Linked DNA regions of Homo sapiens: region 1 is linked to region 2. The links are contacts of gene promoters, found by promoter capture Hi-C in human tissues and cell types (Jung and others, 2019). All regions are on one chromosome and are shown on one strand. The core of a region is centred on a gene start or on the middle of the fragment in contact, and the rest is flanking DNA. Distances in the headings are between cores, read along the strand shown.

Evidence for each region. The method cuts DNA at HindIII sites, captures the fragments that hold promoters and counts their contacts. A contact is called where the count stands out against the background at its distance.
Region 1: a fragment that was not itself captured here is called in contact with the fragment with the promoter of GSK3A in region 2 in 1 of the 25 tissues and cell types used here (dorsolateral prefrontal cortex).

Annotation. Positions count from the first base shown.
Region 1 is chr19:43,604,486-43,610,230 of GRCh38, forward strand. ZNF428 (zinc finger protein 428) reads right to left here. Exons shown (of 3, transcript NM_182498.4): 3 at 2,739-3,622. The coding sequence ends at 3,132. Among named protein-coding and RNA genes, the nearest start is that of SRRM5, 4.7 kb to the right of the region's middle. The HindIII fragment of the contact is 8,844 bases long and covers 1-5,745 here.
Region 2 is chr19:42,239,281-42,245,613 of GRCh38, forward strand. It overlaps GSK3A (glycogen synthase kinase 3 alpha), which reads right to left and starts at 3,322. Exons shown (of 11, transcript NM_019884.3): 1 at 2,903-3,322; 2 at 675-862. The coding sequence starts at 3,185. RefSeq lists silencers at 2,864-3,143, 3,174-3,383 and enhancers at 3,674-3,883, 3,813-4,607, 3,944-3,993, 4,608-5,401, 5,004-5,063. The HindIII fragment of the contact is 9,309 bases long and covers 1-6,333 here.

The sequences.
Region 1 (5,745 bases), core at 1,372-3,871, 1.4 Mb after region 2:
AGCCTCTAAGGATTATTATGAGCACTCAGATTACTGTGAGGACTCAGACTTGGAGACAATGCCAAAGTCAGTATATGGCTCTTACGGCCTGGTTCTCCGCTACTTTCTGACCTCACCTCTTACCTGTCTTCCTCAGTTCCAGCCTCGTGGCCCTGTGTTCTCTTCCCAAGCACCCCAAGTGGGCTCCCACCTCGGGCCATTGCATTTACTGTCCCCACAGACAGCCACAAGGCTCACTCCTGCCCCTTCTCTAGGTCTCTGCTCTGATGTCATCTCAGTGAAGCCTTCCTTGACCACCCTACTTAAAACTGCAACCTTCACACACACAAGCTTCCCACCCTGTTCCTTTTTCTCCATAGCACTTATGACTAACATTCCATAAAATTTGTATTTTTTTTTTTTTTTTTTTTGAGACAGTCTCGCTCTGTCGCCCAGGCTGGAGTGCAGTGGCGCGATCTCAGCTCACTGCAAGCTCTGCCTCCCGGGTTCATGCCATTCTCTTGCCTCAGCCTCTCCGAGTAGCTGGGACTACAGGTGCCCGCCACCATGCCCAGCTAATTTTTTATATTTTTAGCAGAGACGGGGTTTCACCGTGGTCTCAATCTCCTGACCTCTTGATCCGCCCGCCTCGGCCTCCCAAAGTGCTGGGATTACAAGCATGAGCCACCGCGCCCAGCCACAATTTGTATATTTTACTTAAATACTTGATTACTGTCTTCCCCATTATAACCTCCACAAAGGGAGGGGGTTTTTGTTCATTGTGTTGACTGCTATATTTCCAACTCCCAGAGCAGTGCCTGCCATCTCATAGGTGCTCAATAAATCATTGTTGGGTGAATGAGTAAACAAGTAACAGTCCCTAACTTGTAAGGATCTGATGTGACTGTCCACATAAAGCACTGAGCCCAGGGCCTGGTCCACCGTGAGCGCTGACTTAATGATGGCCATTACAGTAATTCAGGTTCTATTCTTGAAGGTTCTTAGTCTCCAACCTTCTATGAGTTAACACATGTAAAGCGCCTTAGAACAGGGCTGGTTGCCCAGTAAATTCTCAGTAAATGATAGCTATTATTATAATTAGGCTTCTATTTTCAAAGTAGCTTCGGCGCCAAGCTTCTGTGAATTACGAATTAGTACTTCCCATCTCTGAGCCCAAGTTTTGGCAAGGCTGTAAAGAGCTGGTCCTTTGCTACCCTTTGACCTCATCCCTACAGCTCTCGCCTCCTTGGCACACCAGGCAGGCTCCTGCCTCCTCCAGCCTGAAGTGCTCTTCCCCATTGATGTACATGGCTCCCCCCGGCTTCAGATCTGTCACCTTCTCAGGGAGGACTATACTCTTTAAAATTGCAACCTCCTTCCAGAACAGTTCTCCCTTCAGTCCTTTTTTAAATTTTTTTCTTGCAACAAATTCCTGCCATCATCCAGGCTAGAGTGCAGTGAGCACAGTGGCACAATTACAGGCCACTCCAGCCTCAACCTCCAAGCCTCAAGTGATCCTGAATAGCTGGGACCATAGGCATGCACCACCAAGCCCAGCTAATTTAATTTTTTGTAGATGGGGTCTCACTGTGTTGCCCAGGCTGGCCTTCAACTCCTGGGCTCAAGAAATCTTCCCACCTCGGCCTCCCAAAGTGCTGGAATTATAGGTGTGAGCCACTGCACCTGGCCTTCCTTCAGTTTTTTTTTTGTGTGTGTGTGTGTGTGTGTGGTTTTTTTTTGAGACAGGGTCTCACTGTTGCCCAGGCTGGAGTGCAGCGACACTTCTTAGGCTCCAGCAATCCTCCCACCTAAGCCTCCCTAGTACTAGGACTATAGCCGTGTACCATCGTTAGCCCAGCTAATTTTTTGTATTTTGTAGAGATGGGGTTTTGGCATGCTGCCCAGGCTGGTCTCAAACTCCTGGGCTCAAGCGATCCACCCACCTCAGTGCTGGGATTTCAGGAGTGAGCCACCATGCCGGGCCTCCTTTCAGTGCTTTATTGTTCTCACAGCATTTATCAGCACCCGGCATATGCTGTATCTTACTTGTTTATGTCTGTCTTCACCAGCAGCCTCTACCCACTCCCATGTAAGCTCCATGAGGACAACGATTTTATTTTATTCACTGCTGTGTTCCCAATGCTTAGCACACAGCAGGTACTCAAAAATATTTGTTAAATGAATTAATGGATCACAATCCCTGTCTCACAGGGTTATTCTAAGAAGCTGATAATCTCATGCAAATTAAGTACAGCACTCTGTAAGTGCTGGGAAAATGGCAGCTGCAATTATCATTAAGGTTCTATTTTTGTAAGTTCCTAGATGCACCATTTCTATGAGTCAATATATATAAAGCCCTTGGACTGGCACCAGATACCCAGGAAGCGCTGAGAAAGCGTAGCTGTGATTATAATTAAAGTCCTCTTTGTGGAAGTTCCTAGGCTATGTGGCAGAAAGCCCTAGCTGTCCTCCATGAACTGTTTTCTGCTTTCTGGGCGCTTGGCTAGACTGCTTCTCCCAGGTTGTTTTTGCAGTTAGCTGCGGCCACATATCTAATTTCTCAGCAAAGGCGTGTCAATGGAAGCAGTGTGTGCCCCTGGCAGGCCAGGGCTTGTAAGACAACACGTGCACCTCACCAGGCATCCTGTCCTCTTCTGCCAGCAGGACCCAGGCTATGGCCACCCAGTCTGGACCATGGGGGAGACAACAGGCTTAAGGGATGGCCTGGGTCCCCAAATGACTCACCCAGCACCATTTTGTGAGTGAGAAACAAAATTCTATTATTAGAGCCTTTACATTATGGGGTCTGTAAGTAAATACATGGAAACCTCATCGAATACAAGCACGCAGTAAATGTTATCTTTCCCAAAAGACCCCAAGGTTCCCCAAGAAGGAGCCCAGGGGGAATACACACACACACACACACACACAAACACACACACGGGCGGGAATACACACACACACACACACACTCTGAACCAACACACACAGATACAGATTTTGGCTTTTATTCTGGCCATCACACATCTACTTCTAAGACAACACAGACCGGCAGTACCCCATCCCCCATGACCACTGTCACAACCCCAATTTCCTCAGCCCCCTCCTCCCACCCCACCCCTTCTGCCAAGCTCCCCGTATGGGGGCTCTGCCTACACCTCACCCCGGGCATGCAGCATGAAGTGCCCGTGCAGCTCCCCCAGGTTGTCGAAGGAATCCTCACATTCCGTACAGTGGTAGGTTCCCTCCTCCTCCTCTTCCTCCTCCTCCTCCCGCCCAGCTGGTCGGCCCTCCCCAGCCCGAGGTGGTTCCTCCTCTTCCTCCCCGAGGGCCCTGCCTTCAGGGGCTGGTGCTTCCTGGGGGGCTGTAGCAGGGCAGCAGAGCCGGCAGGGTGGGGTTCCCGGTGGGGCCTCCCCAAGGGGTGAGCGGCCACAGAGCTGGCAAGGCTGGGCCGGGGGCTGGGCTGCACGGGGGGCCCGGCGGGATGGGCCACCACGGCCCCCGCCAAGGCGCTGCTTCACCTTGTAGCCAGGATCATATTCAGGATCGTCAGTGGTCTCCTCTTCCTCCTCCTCCTCATCTTCTTCCTCTTCGGAGTCCGGCTCTGAGAGAGTGTATTCTGAATCAGAGGAATGCTCGGGGCCTGGAGGGGGACAGACAGGGGAAGACAGTGGTATCAGAGGAAAGAGGGCTAGGCCAAGCTGTCCCCTCCCTGAATCCCCACATTCAGACTTGCCATAGTATGACAAGGATAGCCTAGACACTACCCTTCCCTTCCCCACAGATGAGTCCCCATGGCACAGAACAAGACTGGCACCCAGTAGATTCCCTGTATCTTTGTGTCAAGCAAATGAATGTCTTCCAAGAACTGCATGGGACAGGACTGGGCACAGTGGCTTATGCCTGTAATCCCAGCACTTTTGGGTGGCCAAGGTGGGAAGATCACTTGAGCCCAGAAGTTTGAGACCAGCCTGGGCAATATAGCAAGACTCCGTCTCTACAAAAAATTAAAAAATTAGCCAGGCCTGGTGATGCATTACCTGTAGTACCAGCTTCTCGGGAGGCTGAGGCGGGAGGATCACTTGAGCCGAGGAGTTCCAGGCTGCATTTGAGCCATGATTGCGCCACTCCCTTCCAGCCTGGGTGACAGAGTGAGACCTCACCACTTAAAAAGAATTTTTTTGGCCGGGCGCGGTAGATTACTCCTGTAATCCTAGCACTTTGGGAGGCCAAGGTGGGCAGATCATGAGGTCAGGAGTTCAAGACAAGCCTGGCCAACATGGTGAAACCTCGTCTCTACTAAAAATACAAAAATTAGCTGGGTGTGGTGGCGGGCGCCTGTAATCCCAGCTACTCGGGAGGCTGAGGCAGGAGAACTGCTTCAACCCAGGAGGCGGAGGTTGCAGTGAGCCGAGATCACACAACTGCACTCCAGCCTGGGTGACAGAGCAAGACTCTGCTGTCTTAGAAAAAAGCAAAAAAAAAAAAAAAAAATTATTTGATTCTTTCGATTGATTGCAAAAGAAAACAAAAACTCCATGGGGAGGTGGGGTGGGAGGCATTTAGGAAGGACAAAGCCGGAGTAGTAAAAACCCACCAGTAACAACAGCATCCTTGCTATTGTAGGAGCCCTGTTCTTATACATTAACTCACTAAATCCTCAACAACCCTTTGAGGGTGGTACTATTACTATCCCCAGTTGATGGATGTGGAAACTGAGGCACAGGGAGGCTAGACGACTCACTCCCCTGTGGTTACACAGCTCTGGCAGGAAAAGCTGAACCTGGGCCATGGCTGACACTGGATCATTTTAGGGAGACAACCATTTGAAAAGGTATTTGTGCAAATTAAAACACATGCATACACACAGATGTACTTTTATATCTGTGGCCATGGAGAGAGAGAGAGAGAGAGTTAGGTGAATTAAAACATTTATTTATAGGTAAGATATATTACTGTGATTTCACAGTTATCAAGGACAGGCCTAGGACAAGTTTAGGTTTAAAGAAAAAGGCCTGTAATCTAGCACTTTGGGAGGCTGAGGTGGGCGGATTGCCTGAACTCAGGAGTTCATGACCCACTCTGGGCAACATGGTGAAACCCCGTCTCTACTAAAAATACAAAATTTAGCCAAGTGTGGGGTGGTGGGTGCCTATAGTCCCAGCTACTCAGGACTCTGAGGCAGGAGAATTGCTCGAACCCGGGAGGCGGAGGTTGCGATGAGCCAATATTGAACCACTGCACTCCAGCCTGGGTGACAGAGCAAGACTCCGTTCCCAAAAAAAAAAAAGAAAAGGGGAAAAATTTATAGTTGATATACGGAAAAGGGCGACATCAGCTGCCATTATGGGGGCGCACACACAGAGTAATGGTTGGGGATGGGGTCCCTGTGACCACGGTGTGGGAAGTACCAGCTTCTTCGGCCTTGGTGGTAGGAGCCTGCCAAAAGCCTCACCTTGTATCCATCCCAGCCCCATTCCTCAGTTTCTCCCAGAACCCAGAGGATCCTGCTACTGCACCCTGTGCTCCGCCCTTGCTCCTGTCATCACAGTGGCCACAGGCTCTTCATACCAGGCTCCTCACCTTCCAACACCCCAGGCCCATACCTGCCTCAGGGTCTTTGCCACCCTTTCTGCCGATGTCACTCTCCATTCCATGTCTCTTCTCAAGTGTCACCTTCTCAGTGACGCCCTGGCCACTCCCCAGCACTCCCTACGCCCCTTACTCTGCTTGATTTTTCTCCATCTTCTTTTGAGATAGAGTCTC
Region 2 (6,333 bases), core at 2,072-4,571:
TGCCAAGACCGAGGCCCTGGTCTGGTTCCTTTCCAGTCTAGGCTCAGTTCTCCTACATCCAGACTAGTCTAAGCTCCAAATGCCAGGCCCTTAAACACCAATTATTCCTCAACTTCCACTTCCTCCATCTCCTTCTAGTTCCCTGAGCCTCTCCTAGCTCACAGGGCACCTCCATTCCATTCTGCGCTGGCCAAACACCTGGGAAGAGCGCGACCTTCAGAACCACCCGCGCTAGCCCTGCCAGGTCCCTTTCTCTCCTGGGAAGAAGTGTAACCAAATGGTTAAGGTAGAGGGTTTGGGAATCAGATTCCAGCCTTGACTGGGGCACTTGCTCTATGACCTCAGGCAATCCTCTTACCTGAGTTTGTTTCCCTGCTTTTAAACTTAGCTTACACTTAGAATGGGTATAACCACAGTACCTACCCTCAGAGAATCTTTATGTAAATTAAACAAGAATTTGCTTATTAAGCACTTACATTGAGCAAATGCCCAGTAAAAGCTCTGGGCTCTCCTGGGATCCACATTTCCCATCTTTCACAGGTCTCATTTCCTCTTTTCCCCCTTCTCTTCTGGCCCATGGCTCTGAAACCCAAGCCTCCAGCTCTCTGGCTCAGGTTCTCCCACCAGTCACACCCAGTCCCCAAACCTCCCTGTCCCCATCCCGCCCAAGCTACCTTGAACCTCTTGTCCTGGAGAACCTTCTTGATGGCGACTAGTTCCCTGGTCTCTGCCAGCCGTGCCTGGTACACGACCCCAAATGAGCCATTGCCAATCACTTTGATGTCCGTGTAAGCCACTTCTTGGGAGCGCTCTGGGCCTTGGCCTAGAGTGGCTACGACTGTGGTCACCTTCCCGCTGTCACCTGGGGAACAAAGGGGATACACGATCCACTGACCCATCCTGCCTGCGCATCACCCTATCCTGGGGCTGTGGGAGGAAGGGAAATCTCTGCAGGAAGCTCGTTGGGGACCTCTTTGTCCCCTCCTCCTCTTTGAGGAAAGGTGGATGCTGGGACCTTCCCAGTGACTTTTCCCCTCTTCCTTTCTGGGAATCTTAAGTCCTGCTCCCCTCCACATAGGAGGATATTGATACCTAAATCTCTCTGCTTCAAGGGTTGGCAACCCCAAATTTCTACTTCTAGGAAGCAACAGATCACTGGTCCATCTTGGTACTGGGAGACATCAGATGTTGACTCCATCTACTCTGGATCTACTGCCCTCTGGCCCCTCCTATTTGGAGAAAGCTTGACCGAGCCTCTTCCACTTCAGGGAGCAGTAACCCTGAGGTACTCCTACTTTAGGAAAGCACTAACCTCTCTCACAGCCTAGAGGATACTGACCTCTAAGTCCTCCCCTGTAGAGCTGGTAACTTTACTGGTTCTTGGTGACAGAAATGAATGTCCTCTCCTGCTATAAGTGCCAGTGCCCTGACCCTCACTTTTTGGTACTTTGAGGTTAGAAAAAAACACTGACCTGACCTCTTCATCTGAGTGGTCCAGAGACCCAGACCCCTCACTATATGTGGGTGGTCCCTAATGGACAAGCACCAAATTATGATAATGATGAACCTGACCTTTATTATCAAGGAGCTATTCCAGCCTCAGTCCTTTGAAGGAAAGCTATAATTCCCAATTCCCATTATTCAAATGGTGGCAAACCTTGGTGCCATTCTTAGAGGATAGTGACCCCTTTGAGTAACTGATGAACCAAATCCATTTTTTTGTTTTTTTTTTTGAGACACAGTTTCGCTCTCGTTGCCCAGCTGGAGTGCAGTGGCACGATCTCGACTCACTGCAACCTCCGCCTGCTGGGTTCAAGCGATTCTCCTGCCTCAGCCTCCCGAGAAGCTGGGATTACAGGCGCCCGCCACCACGCCCAGCTAATTTTTTATATTTTTAGTAGAGACAGGGTTCCACCAGTTGGCCAGGCTGGTCTCGAACTCCTGACCGCAGGTGATCCGCCCACCTCAGCCTCCCAAAGTGCTGGGATTACAGGCGTGAGCCACCGCGCCCGGCCACCAAATCCATTTTGAGGGGCCAGTGACAAGTTCTTTCAGAGGGAGATAACCCTACATCACTTTTTTTTTTCAGAGCCAATGACACCATACCTTAGAACAATTATTAAAAAAGTATAACCTTAGATCCATATTCTGTAGGAAACTGTGACCTACCCTGCTCCATTCCATTTTTGTTAAAGGAGACACACCAAGCCATGTATTTTAAAACATGGACTATGGACTTGGTTTGAAGGATATGCTGACTCCCAATGTCTTTATATCTAAAAGGCAGTAACTATTAATTCTCACCATTGGCAGTACAGCTCAACAAGATTTAGGGTGGGTAATGATGCCAGGTCTTGGTTTTAATAGGGAAGATGATCTGAGTACCAGGTTTGGAAAGCCTGGCCCTATTCTTTGGGGACAAAACACAGTAACCTCAAAGCCCTGCTTCTAAGTGATATTCGCTCCAAATCCCCATCTTCTGAAGGACAGGGAATGCAGATCCCTCTTTTTCGGGGTTGGTCTTATTCTTGTTCTCTTAGGAGACAATAACCCTAGATCCCCATTTGCAAGCGACTGTGACCTCTGATCCAATATTATAATGAATAGCAACATCAGATACCTGTTCTTAAGGCTCAAGGACCCAAGACCTCAATAATGGAAGAACAGAGACTTGTAACCCGTTTCTTTAAGTGTTAGTAATTCTGATCCACGAGTAATTCTGATCTCCAAGAGATGGTAACCCCAAGACTCCTTTTCCTGGGAGGAAGAGGGCTCGGATCCCCGGTATGGGGAGGCACAGTGACCTCGAGCTCCTATCTAAGCACATGAAAGAATCTGATGGATGTCTGAGGAGCTTTGGGAACCCTAATCACCACCCTACACGGGCGCCACTAGTACTCACGGCCCAGCTTCACCCCGGGCGGCGGGAAGCTAGTGCCTGCGCCGGGGCCTCCGCTGCCTCCTCCGCCGCTGCCGCCGGGTCCACCCCCGGAGCTCGAGGCCCCGACGCCCCCACCCATGGCCCCGACAGATGCCTTTCCGCCGCCGGTGCCGCCTGGGCCGGAGGCCGAGCCTCCGGGGCCGCCGCCGCCTCCTCCGCCTCCGCCGCCGGGCTCCGCGAACGAGCTAGTCCGCGCCCTGCCCGAGCCCCCAGGGCCGCCTCCCGAAGGCCCGCCGCCGCTCATGGCGCCGAGCACAGGCCCAGGCTGCGGGGCTCGGGCTGCCCGGGCTGCCCCAGCCGCCGCCGCTGCCGCCGCCTCCCCCGGGCCCTGGCCTCTTCCAGGCCGCGCCGCTCTGGCTTGGGCTCCGGCTCCGGCCCAGCGCCCGCCGCGGGGCACGCCGGGAGATGCAGTCCGGCTGTCGTCCGCGCCGCCGTCACCGCCCTCGGCCCGCACAGAGAGCCGCGTGGCACGCCGGGAAATGAAGTCCACAAAAGCCTCAGAGTAGACCGCGGGAATGATGGGCGGGAATGACGGGTCACGCTGTACGTCGGGAAATGGAGTCCAGGGTAATCTGTCAGCCGACTGTACGACGGGGAGCCCTGAAGCACTTTAGGAAGCAGAGAGCCTGATGCACGCTGGGAAACGGAGTCCACTCACTCAGTCTATTAGCTGTGTATGCCTCCCAGAGCTCGGTGCGCTCTGGGAAATTGAGTCGGCCCGCGTGAACCTGCGGGTCTCGGGCCGTGAGGCAAGCCGGGAAATGGAGTCGTCGCCACGCCCTCACCGCATTGCAGGTGTAAAGCGATTTTTAAAGCACGCCGGGAAATGGAGTCTCAGGTGGTTTTTAAGCCCCAGGTGGATACTGCAGTTCCGGAGATGGGCGAGGAAATGGAGTAGGTTTACGCGCTCCTCTTTCCAGGTACGCTGGGCCGCAGTCCCTGCCGGGAAGTGTAGTCAGCACCAAGGCCTCAGTGCAGTTGCCACAGCGAGCCCTGGTGTGTTCTGGGAAATGGAGTTCGACGTATCCTCCCCATTGACTGAGGGGGCGGGATCGCCCATGAGCTCCAAGCATGCTGGGGAATAGTCCAGACCTGACCCTCTGTGAGGCCAGTCTGCGGAGGCTTGCCGGGAAGCGAAGTCCAATGGCCACCATCAGGGGCGTGTGAACGAAAGGTTAGAGACTGCGGCAGTTCCCTGGAGAGACTTAAAAGTGTTTCAGCGCCTCCTTCCTCGCCCCCAGGTCCTTCTTTAAGAAAGAGCCGAGGTCGATCAAGGACTGCTGGAAAATGGATCCAAGCACCTTTAAGTTCCAGGTGACCATAGATCAGGAAAGAAAAAATGTCCCCTCTCTAACCGCAACTCTGCAAAGATTCGGGAAACAAAGTTCCCGGCGGTTTCTCAGAACACTAACTAGTCTTCGGATACAGTCTAGCTTTTCCTAGCAATGTGGTTCGCACCAGGAAGCTGAATGGAGCATTAAAAAGACGGAAATGTCATTTCTGGGCCTGGCGCTGTGGCTCAGGCTGGGCGCCAGTAGCTCACGCCTGTAATCCTAGCACTTTGGGAGGCCGAGGCTGGCGGATCATCCGAGGTCAGGAGTTCGAGACCAGCCTGGCCAACATAGCGAAACCCCCGTCTCTACTAAAAGTACAAAAATTAGCCGGGTGTGGTGGCGGGCGCCTGTAATACCAGCTACTCAGGAGGCTGAAGCAGGAGAATCGCTTGAACCCGGGAGGCATAGGTTGCAGTGAGCCGAGATCGCGCCACTGCACTCCAGTCTGGGCGAAAAGAGTGAGACTCCGTCTCAAAAAAAAAAAAATCCTGTCTTGAACCACCATTCAGTTTTCAGTTTTTGGTTTGTTTTGAGACAGGGTCTCGCTCTGCCGCCCAGGCTGGCGGGCAGTGGCGCAATCACAGGTCACTGCAGCCTCTAACTCCCAGGCTCAAGCAATCCCCCCACCTAAGCCTCCCATGTAGGTGGGACTACAGGCGTGCACCATCACGCCCAGCTAATTTGGTTTGGTTTGTTTTTTGGGGTGGTGGGGGGTAGCGGGGTGGGCTTCGCCATGTTGCCCAGGCTGGTCTCCAATTCCTGGGCTCAAGCGATTCTACCTCAGCCTCCAACGTGCTGGTATTTCAGGCTTGAGCCACGGCACCGGGCCTCCCACTCTTGTGTTTTGCATCCTCCGCTTCCTAAATTACAAGATCCCGGAAAGCCAAAAATAAGGAAGCCAGCTGCCTCAGGTTTTGTGTACTCAGTGAGTCGTCCTATTTATCGATTAATACCCGAAGGAGAGTAGCCCCCAAAAGGCGCTGGGAAACAGAGTTCCTGTGTCTGTATGTGTCTCTTCCTCCCCCGGAAATACTTAGAAGTAGAATGAAAGCGTTCTCAGCCCCTCCCGCATCCTGGAATGGTGGGAAATGGAGTCTCTGGACTTCACGTTAATCCGAGCTTGTGCTTATACTAACTGTCCTGTCCTTTCTGAAACCAGAAGAAAGTCCTGTCCACTCAGTTTGTTCCTGACTGCAATTCCCCGCGGACACAACTGCGGGGGTCGGTAGCGCCAAAGCCTGTTGAGACTACATTACCCAGAAGGCAAAGTGCGGAACACTTCCGCTCCCTTCACAAAGCAGGTGGCCGCACCACGCGCGGCTAGGCGCGGGCGTTTCTGGGAGTTGCAGTTTCCCAGCCAAATGGTACCTGCTGCCCTCTGATGGCAGCTCTGAGTCAAAAAGTAAAAATTTCAGTCGAGCCCCTTGGCCTAGGGATTCCAACGCGGGACCAAGACGGCTCAAAAGGGCGGCGACATGGGGCAGGATAGCGAGGGTTATTTAACCGCCAGAACCCGTGGGGCATGCGCCGCTGCGTGTGGGCAACCGCCACGAGGGGATTGGGGTCCGTGGGAGTTTGAAGGTGACGGTCTGCAATCTATCAGGATGTTTGTAGAGGATGAGAATGTTCATAGAGGGATGCTAGGAAGGGTTGTAAACGTCTGAGAGAGGCCTATGGGTGTCTAGAAGGGCTAAGAGGAGTCCGTGGAGTGGTGAAGGGGTCTTTGATGAGCTTAGTTGACAGGATAATTACTGGGGACCAGTGGAGAAGCCTGAGGGGACTTAGGCTGTCTGCTAAAAGTTCTATGGGTGGGTGGACGCGATGGCTTACACTTGCAATCCCAGCACTTTGTGAGGTCAAGGCCGTGGATCACTTGAGGTCAGTCAGAAGTTCGAGACCCGCCTGGCCAACATGGAGGAAACCCCATCTCTACTAAAAACACACAAAAAAATTAGCCGGGCGTGGTGGCCCACGCCTGTAATCCCAGCTACTCGGGAAGCTGAGGCACAAGAATCTCTTGAACCTGGGAGGCTGAGGTTGCAGTGGGCTGAGATTGCA